Linked DNA regions of Homo sapiens: region 1 is linked to region 2. The links are contacts of gene promoters, found by promoter capture Hi-C in blood cells and fetal thymus (Javierre and others, 2016). All regions are on one chromosome and are shown on one strand. The core of a region is centred on a gene start or on the middle of the fragment in contact, and the rest is flanking DNA. Distances in the headings are between cores, read along the strand shown. Region 1 has its middle 91 kb from the start of TNFRSF11A. Region 2 holds the start of PIGN (phosphatidylinositol glycan anchor biosynthesis class N).

Region 1 (5,482 bases), core at 2,571-5,070, 230 kb after region 2:
CCATGATCACCTTCTACTAGGAATTAGGATTTTTGACTCTAGACTAAACCCTTAAATGGGCAAGACTTCATTAACTACCAAAGTATTTGAATATCAAGCTATGAAGACATTGAAGTCAATTACTTTGGCTGTGGCAATTATGGTGTGTCAAGTCAACTGTGGTATATAATGACAACTTGTTATCCTACAACACTCTTATCATAAATGGTACCCTCCTTAATAACGAAACTCAAATCCATGTCTGCCTAATGACCAGCCAGCAGAAGTCAGCTCGGTCAGCACCCACACTGCAAGCAAATGAGCCTCATTTACAGCTCTCTAGTTTTTGTACATTTTTCTTCACACTTTGACAATTTTTCATTCATCACTATGACTGAGAAAAGGAAATATAATGCATAAAATATAAAATCTCCACAATAAGTCAGGAGAGCAACCATTTAAGAAATGAAGCACTATATTCCACACTGTGTTGGCCAATGTTAGCAATAGGCTCAAACTCCTGACAAGACCAGATACAGAGATGCCTTGTATGACATCAACAGGATTTAATTTCTAAAGGTTAAAGAAGGAAGTCAATTCGGCTGGAGTTCAAGTGAAAAACCATCAAGATTCTCAGTGCAAGCTTCCAGATCAGAGCTGCCCTACAGAATTTTCCATGTTGACCAGACGGTAACCAGTGGCCACATGGCTGCTGAGTGCTTGAAATGTGGCTGGTACCACTGAGCAAATACCTTTACAACTTTAATTAATTTTAAATTATCTTCTTTTTTCTATACCTCAACCCCTTTTCTCCTTCCATCCCCAATGCATTCTTTTAGCATCTGGGTCATAAAATCCTCATGGGAGAGAGATGTACACATTGGGTATAAAGTCTGAGAAAATAAGGGTCCCATTACCCTTCCTGGAAACCTAACCATCTATTGCTGAGGTGGGCTTGTATGTAGCCTAATCTCTGTATATGTCAGAGATCATCTTACCTACACCAGGTTCACATTTTCCATCTTAGAGTTATACAGGACATTGTATATAGGACCTGCAGGGATATGGGGTACACTACCAGTACACCCAGACATGAATGAAATGCTGCCTCAGCATCCTAGACTCCAGGCTAGCACAGTGTTGTCCAAAGAACGTTTCTGAACTCCAGGCTGAGGGACTGGAGCAAGATTCACCCTGACATCTCTAGGAGTTATGCTGACAAGCTCCTCAGACAGCAAAAGGGCTTGTCTTCCACCTGGCAACGGAAGTCAGGCATGGATGGACATGAAGGAGCCTCCCGGTTCCAGTGGTTCTGTTAAGCTACAAACGTAATTTTCAGTCACAAAGAAAATAGCTGACGGAAGCCAATCGCAATCAACAAATTATTTTGCCTTCTGGTTGGTCATCGTTGTAATGAAAATATTTCCTTTCAATGCATGGAAAGCAGTTTAGCAGAACTAGCAAAGAAAGATGGCATGATCATTAGCTCATTTAATATTACAGCTCATGGGACAAGCATAGATTCAGAAGCATTAAATAATATTCTAGGTAAATTATCAGAAGTCAAGAAAGAGGAAAGCTAGAGTTCATGACACATGTTAATTTACTTAGGGAATCTTCAAACATGAAAAAGAAGTAAAAATAAAGTGAACACCTATGTAGCTATCAACCAAGTTCAACAATTATCAACACCTGGCCATTCTTGTTTCTTTACTTCAACCTACTTTCCCTTCCATCCCCAGCGAATTATTTTAAAGAAAGTCTCAGCTCTTCCCCTAAGTGTTTCTGCTGGCAATACTAAGTGGTACAACCTGAGGTAATCTGTGAAAATGGTTTGCTATTCACTTGATCTGTAGAAGCCCACACAATCATACAAATCAAGAGGTTCAAATTTTCCTGTTCACTTTAAGAACACTCGTGAAACTGCCCAGGCCATCAAGGCTATGCATATACAAAAAGCCATGAAGTATCTGAAAGATGTCACTTTACAGAAACAGTGTGTACCATTCCAACGTTACAGTGGTGGAGTTGGTAGGTGTGCCCAGGCCAAGCAGTGGGGCTGGACACAAGGTTGGTGACCCAAGAAGAGTGCTGAATTTTTGCTGCACATGTTTAAAAATGCAGAGAGCAATGCTGAACTTAAGGGTTGAGATGTAGACTCTCTGGTCATTGAGCATATCCAAGTGGACAAAGCATCTAAGATGTGTTACCAGACCTACAGAGCTCATGGTTAGATTAAGCCATACGTGAGCATTCCCTGCCACATCGAGATGATCCTTACTGAAAAGGAACAAATTATTCCTAAACCAAAAGAAGAGGTTGCCCAGAAGAAAAAGATGTCCCAGAAGAAACTGAAGAAACAAAAACTTATGGCACAGGAGTAAATTCAGCATTAAAATAAATGCAGTTAAGGCCAGGCACAGTGGTTCACGCCCGTAATCCCAGCACTTTGGGAGGCCGAGGTGGGTGGATCACTTGAGGTCAGGAGTTTGAGACCAGCCTGGCCAACATGGTGAAACCCCTTCTCTATTAAAAATTAAAAAATTAGCTGGGCGTGGTGGTGCGTGCCTGTAATCCCAGCTACTCAGGAGGCTGAGGCAGGAGAATCGCTTGAACCTGGGAGACAGAGGTTGCAACGAGCCGAGATCGCGCCACTGCACTCCAGCCGGAGTGACAGAGTGAGACTCTGTCTCAAGACAATAAATGAATAAATGCAATTAAAAGTTTTAAAAAGTCCCAGATATCACATAATTTTATCTTTTAAAAAGCCTTTAGTTTATATCACTAAAGATAAGGCAATTTTTAAACATACTACAGTATCATCACATCTAAAAATATTAGTAATAATTCCTAGATACCATCAAATAAACAGAAAGTCTAGCTGTCATACCTGTACCCTCCTCTGTTGCCTCCCTCTCCCACAGTAATATTTTTTAGTTTTGATTTGTCCTTCAATTATTTTTTTATGTAAGCAAATAAATATAGTAAATATTTGTTGTTTTTTCCTTCACAGAGAAGAGGTAACCCATTATACACATTTTCTGCATCTGGATTGCACTTAAAAATTATTCTCACTTGACACCAATACATAGAAAACTTTGTTCTTTTTTTCAGCTACATAGTACTCCAACATGTGAAGGTACTTTATTCAACCATTACTCTGTTGATGGACATTTGGGCTATTCCCAGTTTTTTGCTCTTACTAGCAGTGTCATCATGAAAAGCCTTGTGTATATGAATTTCTTATTTTGAGAGCATCTTTGGAATAGATTCCTAGAAGTGGGATTGATGAGTCAAAAGGCAAATGCATATAATGTTGCTAGCTATTGTCAAACTCTCTTCTATAAAGATTATACCACTTAATATTGCCAGCAGAAATGAGTATGGTGTCCTTCTTTATGATTTTTTTGGCCCTCTGAGAAATGAGAAGTAGTATCTCAGTGAGGTTTCAATTTCCTTTTTTTTTTTTCTGTAATCTATATTTTGAGAACTTCATTCTAAGAGAACAAGACTCCTTTTGGACAGTAACACCATTGGAATTGTCAAAAAAGAAAAATCTTCCCTGGTTACATTATGTGTTGAATAAAGAAGTTTTTCTTGCAGATAGGCTTGAGTTGTCAAGTTTTCATTCAGAGCAGCTCAAGCATGGGGAGTTTATGAAAATGGAATCGTTGAAATTCATAGAATGAGAAGCCTCAAAGAGCTCTTTTTACCAGCATATTCCATTGAATACCTTTGGAGACATTCATACCCATCAAATACTCAGAGCATACTTTTTGAGAAGATTAAACCTAACTTAGAAGTTGGAGGTTCTTGGCACAATAAAGAAAAGCAATGCTTAACCCTGAAAGATTAACTGGGGAAAAACATGATACCTTCAGTCAAAACTTTATGGAACTTTTATTTTAAAAAACTTCATTTCACCCTACCCATGACCAAGTACCCCCCAAGAAATGTTTAGAACATATCATTTATATGAGCTGTTTGAATTTAAACACTGAATAAATGCTTGCAAAAGCATATATTTGTCCTAACTTCTATTTTATTTTTAAATCAACTTTGGCATTTTCACACTGTAAAGTGAGTTTTTTATGTGAGGGCTTGCTTTACAGAAATTTCAATATCCCATGTTTACAAAGAAGCACTCACTGAGGATTCAATTCTCTTGCAATTAATTTTCCCAAGTTGCCAGCTAGCAGGCTACCAATCTATGGAGCGTTCAACATTTAGGGATGAACTTTCATGGGCCCTGGGGATGCAAAGATTACTACTTTGTGGTTCCTCGGTAGAGGAGCTGAAAAGTAAACATGTAAATTAAAACAGCCTATGACATAGGACCAACCAGGGTGTGTTGTCATTGTTGACATGTATCTCTACCAGAAAAGTTCACTCTTCTTTATAAATGACAGCATTATTGAGCTGTTACCAACAGTAATTCACATGACCAATGGTGGACAACCAGGACTCCAAGATGGTGTCAGTTGCACCAGTGAAAGAGAGGAAAGTCATGGATGCCTAACTTGGGGAGCTGCCAAGCTGGCTATTGATGTGGGGTTTCACCCTGAAAGGCATGATTGGAGCATTTCAAAGAAGTTACTACCCGCATTAGAACAAGTGCCTCACAGGAAGGAAGGGAGCATTGCAGGGGTTTCTATAGCTGGCAGCTTACAGCTTTTCCTCTATGTTCTTTCTTACAAAGAGCTCAACTGTGAGCAACTCTGCAAGCATCACCTAAGAGGGGCCAGTGAAGGGTGCACTCTGCCCTTCTGACCATGACCTCCTTGGCCCATCACCCCTTTGTGAGAAACTCCATCACTGCTGAATCCTTTTATATCCTAATTGAGAACTAACGCCCAAACAGAAGATGACTGGTATGTGTAAAGAAATACAAATAATAAAATTCACATACCATATAATTCATCTCTTTAAAGTGCACAATTCAATGGGTTTTTTGTGTGTACATTCAGAGTTGTGCAACCATCACCACATTCAATTTTTAGAACAATTCATCACCCCCAAAAAGAAACTGTGCATCCACTCACAGTCACTCACTATTTCTTCCAACCTGCACCCCCCACCCCCAGCCCTGAGTGACCACTAATCTTTGCATTCTCCCTAGATTTACCTATCTGGGATATTTCATACAATGAAATGAAAATGAAATCATACAGTATGCAGTCGTGGTGACTGTCCTCTTTCATAATGTTTTTGAGGTTTGTCAATGCTGTACTATGTATCAGTATTTAATTCCTTTTTCTTTCCAAATCATAGTCCATTGTGGATATACTATGTTTTCTGTTGCTTACTGTTTGATATGGTTTGGATTTTTGTCCCCACACAAATCTCATGTTGAATTGGAGGACGGGCCTGGTGGGAGGTGACTGGATCATGGGGGCAGATTTCCCCCATGTTGTTCTCATGACAGTGAGTGAGTTGTCACAAGATCTGATGGTTTAAAAGTGTGTGACATATTGCGGCACTATTCACAATAGCAAAGACTTGG
Region 2 (6,071 bases), core at 3,213-5,712:
GAACTACTGCAATGCAGGAATAGGTCACCCCTATATACTCTAACCCTTCTCTGATCCATTTCTTGCCATGTAGCCAGAGTATTACTTGCTTTTCTTTTTTCAAAAGAAAATCTGAACATCTTACCCCTTGTATAAAACTCTCCAGTGCCTTCTGTGAAGCATTCACTGTCTTTAAAGTCAAAAGACACGTTTGCAACAACACGGATGTTCCTGAAGCCTGGTATGCTAAGTGAAATAAGCCAGGTGCAGAAACACAAATACTGCATGATTTCACTCCTATGTGGAACTTAAGAAAGTTGACCCCACTGAATTAGAAGCAGAATGGTGGTAACCAGAGGCTGGGGTAGTTCCACAGCGGGGGGCAATTGTAGAGATACTGATCAAAGCATTCATATTAGAGTTAGATAGAAGGAATAAGTTCAAGAGCTCTGTTGTACAGCATGGTGACTCTAGTTAATGATGATATATTGTATTCTTGAAAACTGCTAAAAGGGTAGATGTTCAAATTTCTCATCACAAAAATGATAACTATGTGTAAGGTAATGCATTTGTTACTTAGCTAGATTTGAGCATTTCACAATGTATATAAACTGAAGAACATCATGTACACAATGAATACATAAAATCGTATATTAAAAAATAAATTTAAAAATGAAGTCACAGCTGGAAAAAAAAAACTCTCCAGTGCCTTTTCACCTACTAATCTAGACTAAAATCCTTAATGTGACTAACAAGGTCTTTTATAGACTAGCCTCTGCCTTCTTTTCTAAACCTGTCTCATAGCACTCCCCTTTACTTTGTAACATCTCACATCACTGGCCCCTTCTTTTATTCAAGTATCCCACTGCTATAAGACCTTTGTAGGCTCAATTCCTCTCTGCAGAATGTACTTGCAACCTATCTTCCACTCTCTCCTAACATTCCATTTCAAGCATCACTTCCTCAGGGACTATGCAGGTGAAGTCAGAAACGAAAACTTTTACTTCAGTTTGTAATTACATAGCTTTGTCTACGACTATTTGAATTAATGTCTGTCTCTGTCACTTCACCACAATTCCATGACAGCAGGACGGGGCATCTCCAACACCCATCAGAGTCTTATGCACTTAGTAAGGACTCAAATGTTTGCTGAATAAATTATTTAGAATTATCATTTCAAGGGTAAATGCAATATGCACTACAGCCACTAGAGGATGCCCTGCTTCTGTTTTTGTTCCTCCAGAACAAGATGTGAAGACTGAAAATACTTTAAAAAAAAAAAAACTAAACCTTTTATGATAAAGTAATTTACTATTAATGTAAATAAAATTGCAGTTATTACAAAATATCAGCATTCACTAACTACTTATTTTAATTAGTTTAATTGCTTAATACTAAATATTACTTAATACTTCTCTTTAAAGAAAATCACAATTTATTCAGATTTATTGAAAAAGAAATACCTCCAAAACAAACACATAACTATTAAAATTTTAAAAAGATATATGCATGTACCAATACAAGTTATCTAGTTTATCTGTGGATGTTTACCACACACTGAAAAACAATAAAACATGAGGTATTACTAAAACCTCAAGTCAACCAAAACTTGCATTCAGAATATTACTTGTGGTTCTTTTAAGACTATTAAAACCTAAAATAATTTTTTAAATACTAAAATGATTGACGTGCTTTGAAAAAAGGCATCTTTTACATCTTCATTGCTAAGGCACAAGCTTTAATAACTATCATTAGTCAGATGAAACATTAGTTGTAAGGGCCTAGATTAATGAAAATCTTACTAAGTAGAAAGGAAATTTCCCAACACTATTAATAATACATTATTATAAGTAGTGATCGGTAATTTTTAATATTCCAGTGTGTGTTACTTATACATTATTCACGAATAACCAAACCTCTGTGTATTGTGGAAAAGAAAAGTACATACTGGGAAGACTGGGCAGTTGATTTCTAATGGGCTTACAAGATCAAACACACAAGTTCATGGTTATAGGATAGGAGGCAGAAATAGAAGCAGAAAACCACAGATTTGTATGGGAAGAATTCCTCTACATGCAAGTTCTTACAACTCTGAGGAAACATTTTAAATCTATTTTCAACTTGTGTTTTAGAACTGAGACCCCAAATTAAAGATACTCCCTTCAGCCCTACTGACTTAATTGCTTTTTCAGGCTTGCACTGCCAAAACGATTGATATTAGTTTTATTTTTAAACACTTGTCAAATGTTCTCAACACATACTAATATTTCAATAATTAATAAGTGACCACAGTAATAGTTATTGTGTAGCAGGTACCAGGCACTGGGACAAGAACATTCTCAATTCTGTGTACTTTCCTTATCCCCTTTGATAGACGAATGCAAGTGAGGCTGAGAAGTTAGGTAACTTTTTCAAGGTCTCACAATAAATAATGAGTAGAATTGGGATCTGAACTTAAGCTTTTCTATCTTATAAGCATAATCCTCTTCAGGAATCCTAAATGCAGGAGATTTCTCAATTTCCCAATCATGGAGATGGAAATATTGTATATAAACAATCCATTTCTAATCATGCCCTTCCCATGCCATTCACTAATCCTCCATTCCTGGATTCCAGAAATTGGTTCCATTTTAATCTCTCTGGAAAATCCAACTAAAATACGGATCAGCAATCCCTTTTGCTAAGAAATCTCTAACAGGATACAGTATTTGCCATTTCAATTCTATTTGGGGGGATTTTTTTCCCCATGTTTTACTTTTAATATATGGCACAGAAAACTATTTATCATTAAAACATTGGGAACTAATGTCCTATAAAAAAATAGTTTAAATTCTTGGTACTTTTTTTTTAAACTTCTAGCAAAAATAAAATTTTAAAAACCCAAATCCCCATTCAAATGAAAATTTTAGTTTATTGAGCCTGGGTATATTGAAATTAAAGCCTACTCTTAACTGTTGGCATACTTTTACATGTAAACCAATAACCTGACCTAAGGTTATGTAAGAATCGTCTATTTTAATTTTTCCATGGAGCTAACGGGAGATACTTTACTGTGGAATGTTTACTACACACTGAATGTAATATGTCACTTACCTGTACACTAAGAAAGGAAATCTAAAGCCTGGAAAAGTGGTCATTTGTGTGTGAAAAAAATAGGAGCCATAAGAAATAGCAGTCTAATTGTATTGACTGGAAATTCCTTTACCTTTTCAGATCATAATCAAGGAATGACATAAAAGATAAACGTTGATCTTCTAAACTTAGGATATGTACTTTATATGCTAACATTTCATCAAAAAAATCAAAACTCTCTGAAGCATTCAACTTTTAAAATAGTTCTAAGTTCCAAAACCTTGATTCTAGCCTGCATGAACGAGTCAGAAATGTTGCAGGAGACAGTGGATAAAGAATCGTTTGGGACATAAGAGAAATGATGTTAATTCCTTTGACTCCTTATTAGCGGAATTGATTTTTTTTTTTTTTTTTTTTTTTTTTTGAGACGGAGTCTCGTTCTGTCGCCCAGGCTGGAGTGCAGTGGCGCGACCTCGGCTCACTGCAATCTTCGCCTCCGGGGTTCAAGCGATTCTCCTGCCTCAGCCTCCTGAGTAGCTGGGATTGCAGGCTTGCGCCACCACGCCCAACTAATTTTTGTGTTTTTAGTAGAGAAGGGGTTTCACCATGTTGGTCAGGCTGGTCTCGAACTCCCGACCTCGTGATCCGCCCGGCTCGGCCTCCCAAAGTGCTGGGATTACAGGCGTGAGCCACCGCGCCCGGCGTGGAGCTGATTTTATAACAACCACTCTTGGCTTAAGTTTACTTATCTGTCTACTGGTGAGACAGCATTAGATATTCTGAAGGGTCCCTGTTGTGTAAATCGTGTATTAAATCCTAAGCGTTTATTGAGTACCTAACAATTTGTTTTCCAACTCGACGATGTTCCCAGATCCAGGCAAATGCCAACCTCAGCGTTCCCTTTTCCGTTTAGTCTCTCCAGCCCCCGTCCCCACCCACAGGCAGGACCACCTCCGGGGCTGAGAAGTCGTGCTGTCGCTAGGCCTCCCGAGTGTGCAAGCATGTGGCAGAGAAGGGAAAAGAAAGGAAGTCACATTCCGACTACAGGCCTGGGCACTTGCTATCCATGGGGACAAAATGTCACCACTGGCAGCAAATAGCGAGAAAAAGTGCAGCGCAGTAGGGAAACAGCGCGTCCGCGGGCGCGACACCACAGTTTGGGCGCCGACACCCTCCGCGCACTGGTCCCTGAACTTTACCTGGAGCTTATCCCGGTCAGGCCTGATCTCGAAAACGAGGGCTCCTCAGCGCGAAGGCAGGACCCAGCTCCATTAAAGCTCTCGGGCAGTGGTCCCCTCTACCCACTGAAGCGATAGCCGGGAGGGTATTCCTAAGCCACCACTACAACCACCCCTCAATTCCGGAACGCCCCCAATACCTGCCCGGCCGCTGCTGCTATCGCGATAATTCTCGGGCCAGTCTCCCGTCAGTCCGCTCCACGCCTTCCTTCTCTGACCAATCATGGAGGAGTCGTGGGTGGAGTTTTGCTTTTGAGCGGAGAGCGGGGCCTTCAATCTTTGCTATCTGGCGCTGGGAATGGGCGGAGCTGAAGTGGGCTGGGGCGGGGCTGGGGCGGGGCTAGATCGGGGAGAGGGGCAGGGGCACGCTCCAGTTCTCGCGAGACTGGAGACCAGGAAGACGCCTGCAGAGCCGGGCTGCTGGTGCAGCAGAGGCTGAGGCATCAGGTGCAGCTGCATCCGGATCTCCTGCCTTGGAGCGTACTCCTTGTCTCTAAGTCGGGAGGCAGGACGTGGTCAGGCCGGGGCTGTGGAGGTGCGCTGTGTCCCCTGAGGCCTAGAGGATTCGGGCTGCGGCCCGTCGGAACCAGTCAGGGAGGCGCCCACACTCCTGACAGGATAAGATGGCGGCGATGGCGCCTGGAGGTAGTGGCAGTGGTGGCGGCGTGAATCCATTTCTCAGTGATTCGGATGAGGACGATGACGAGGTAGCTGCAACAGAGGAACGGCGGGCAGTACTTCGGCTGGGCGCCGGAAGTGGCCTAGATCCTGGCTCTGCGGGCTCGCTGTCGCCACAGGATCCCGTGGCCTTAGGAAGCAGTGCGCGGCCAGGGCTCCCTGGGGAGGCGTCGGCGGCTGCAGTGGCCCTGGGGGGCACCGGGGAGACCCCGGCCCGATTATCAATTGATGCGATCGCTGCTCAGCTGTTGCGCGATCAATACTTGCTGACCGCCCTGGAGCTGCATACCGAGCTGTTAGAGAGTGGCCGGGAGCTGCCTCGGCTGCGCGACTACTTCTCCAATCCAGGCAACTTCGAGAGGCAAAGTGGAACCCCGCCGGGGATGGGGGCGCCAGGGGTCCCTGGAGCAGCCGGCGTTGGGGGCGCTGGAGGTCGGGAACCGAGTACAGCGTCGGGCGGGGGACAGCTCAGTAAGTGGACGCAGCCTGTCACACTCCGGCAGGGTATTTGGGATTGTACGGAGTTACTGTAGGGGAGAGGGGGTATTTCTGCGTGGGTCCCGATAGGGACATTTTAAGGAACGAGAGTATTGGGGTGGGGGCGCTCTTTTGCGGTGGAAGCAAGAGGATCAGGCAATGACTGTTCTCTCTGCCTGCTTCCAACCCTTGGCTGGTGTTGCACTTGGCTCCTGGCTCCCCTACTGGTGTCAGTATCTATAAAATATCAAGAGTTTCTAGTTCACTGGCTATTACGGGACTCCAGAAGGTTCCCTTTTATACTAGTTTATTGCTTTAAGCATTTTCCTTTTTCTCCAGTTACCTGAATCACACTACCAGGAAATAGTGTTACCTGAATTGCCTGCAGTAGTTCTTTGAGTCTGAGCCAGGAGAGAAAGAATAGGACACACTGCTGCTGTCTCCGAAAAGTCAGATGTACTTAAGACCCTTTGTCTTTGGGACGACTTTTTCACCGCCAAAATTGGGTTTTCTGCTGCACAAAATTTGTTCTGTTGAGATAAAGTTGATGTAATTCAGTTTCAATGCCTTAATTTAAGTAATGTCCAAAATTACAGGAAATCCAAGGAGCAAGGCAGACAGGTTCTA

What was found. Contacts are between HindIII fragments. The CHiCAGO score rates a contact against its expected background, and 5 or more counts as called.
Region 1: a contact is called between a fragment that was not itself captured here and the fragment with the promoter of PIGN in region 2, in 4 of 17 cell types (megakaryocytes, M2 macrophages, M0 macrophages and 1 more). The highest score is 7.8, in megakaryocytes.

Annotation. Positions count from the first base shown.
Region 1 is chr18:62,413,868-62,419,349 of GRCh38, forward strand. It overlaps the pseudogene RPL17P44. Among named protein-coding and RNA genes, the nearest start is that of TNFRSF11A, 91 kb to the left of the region's middle. RefSeq lists an enhancer at 4,518-4,567. The HindIII fragment of the contact is 6,401 bases long and covers 621-5,482 here.
Region 2 is chr18:62,182,594-62,188,664 of GRCh38, forward strand. It overlaps PIGN (phosphatidylinositol glycan anchor biosynthesis class N), which reads right to left and starts at 4,463. Exons shown (of 31, transcript NM_176787.5): 1 at 4,251-4,463. RELCH (RAB11 binding and LisH domain, coiled-coil and HEAT repeat containing) reads left to right here and starts at 4,662. Exons shown (of 29, transcript NM_001346231.2): 1 at 4,662-5,438. The coding sequence starts at 4,913. RefSeq lists silencers at 3,965-4,177, 5,128-5,347 and an enhancer at 4,768-4,977. The HindIII fragment of the contact is 4,021 bases long and covers 2,437-6,071 here.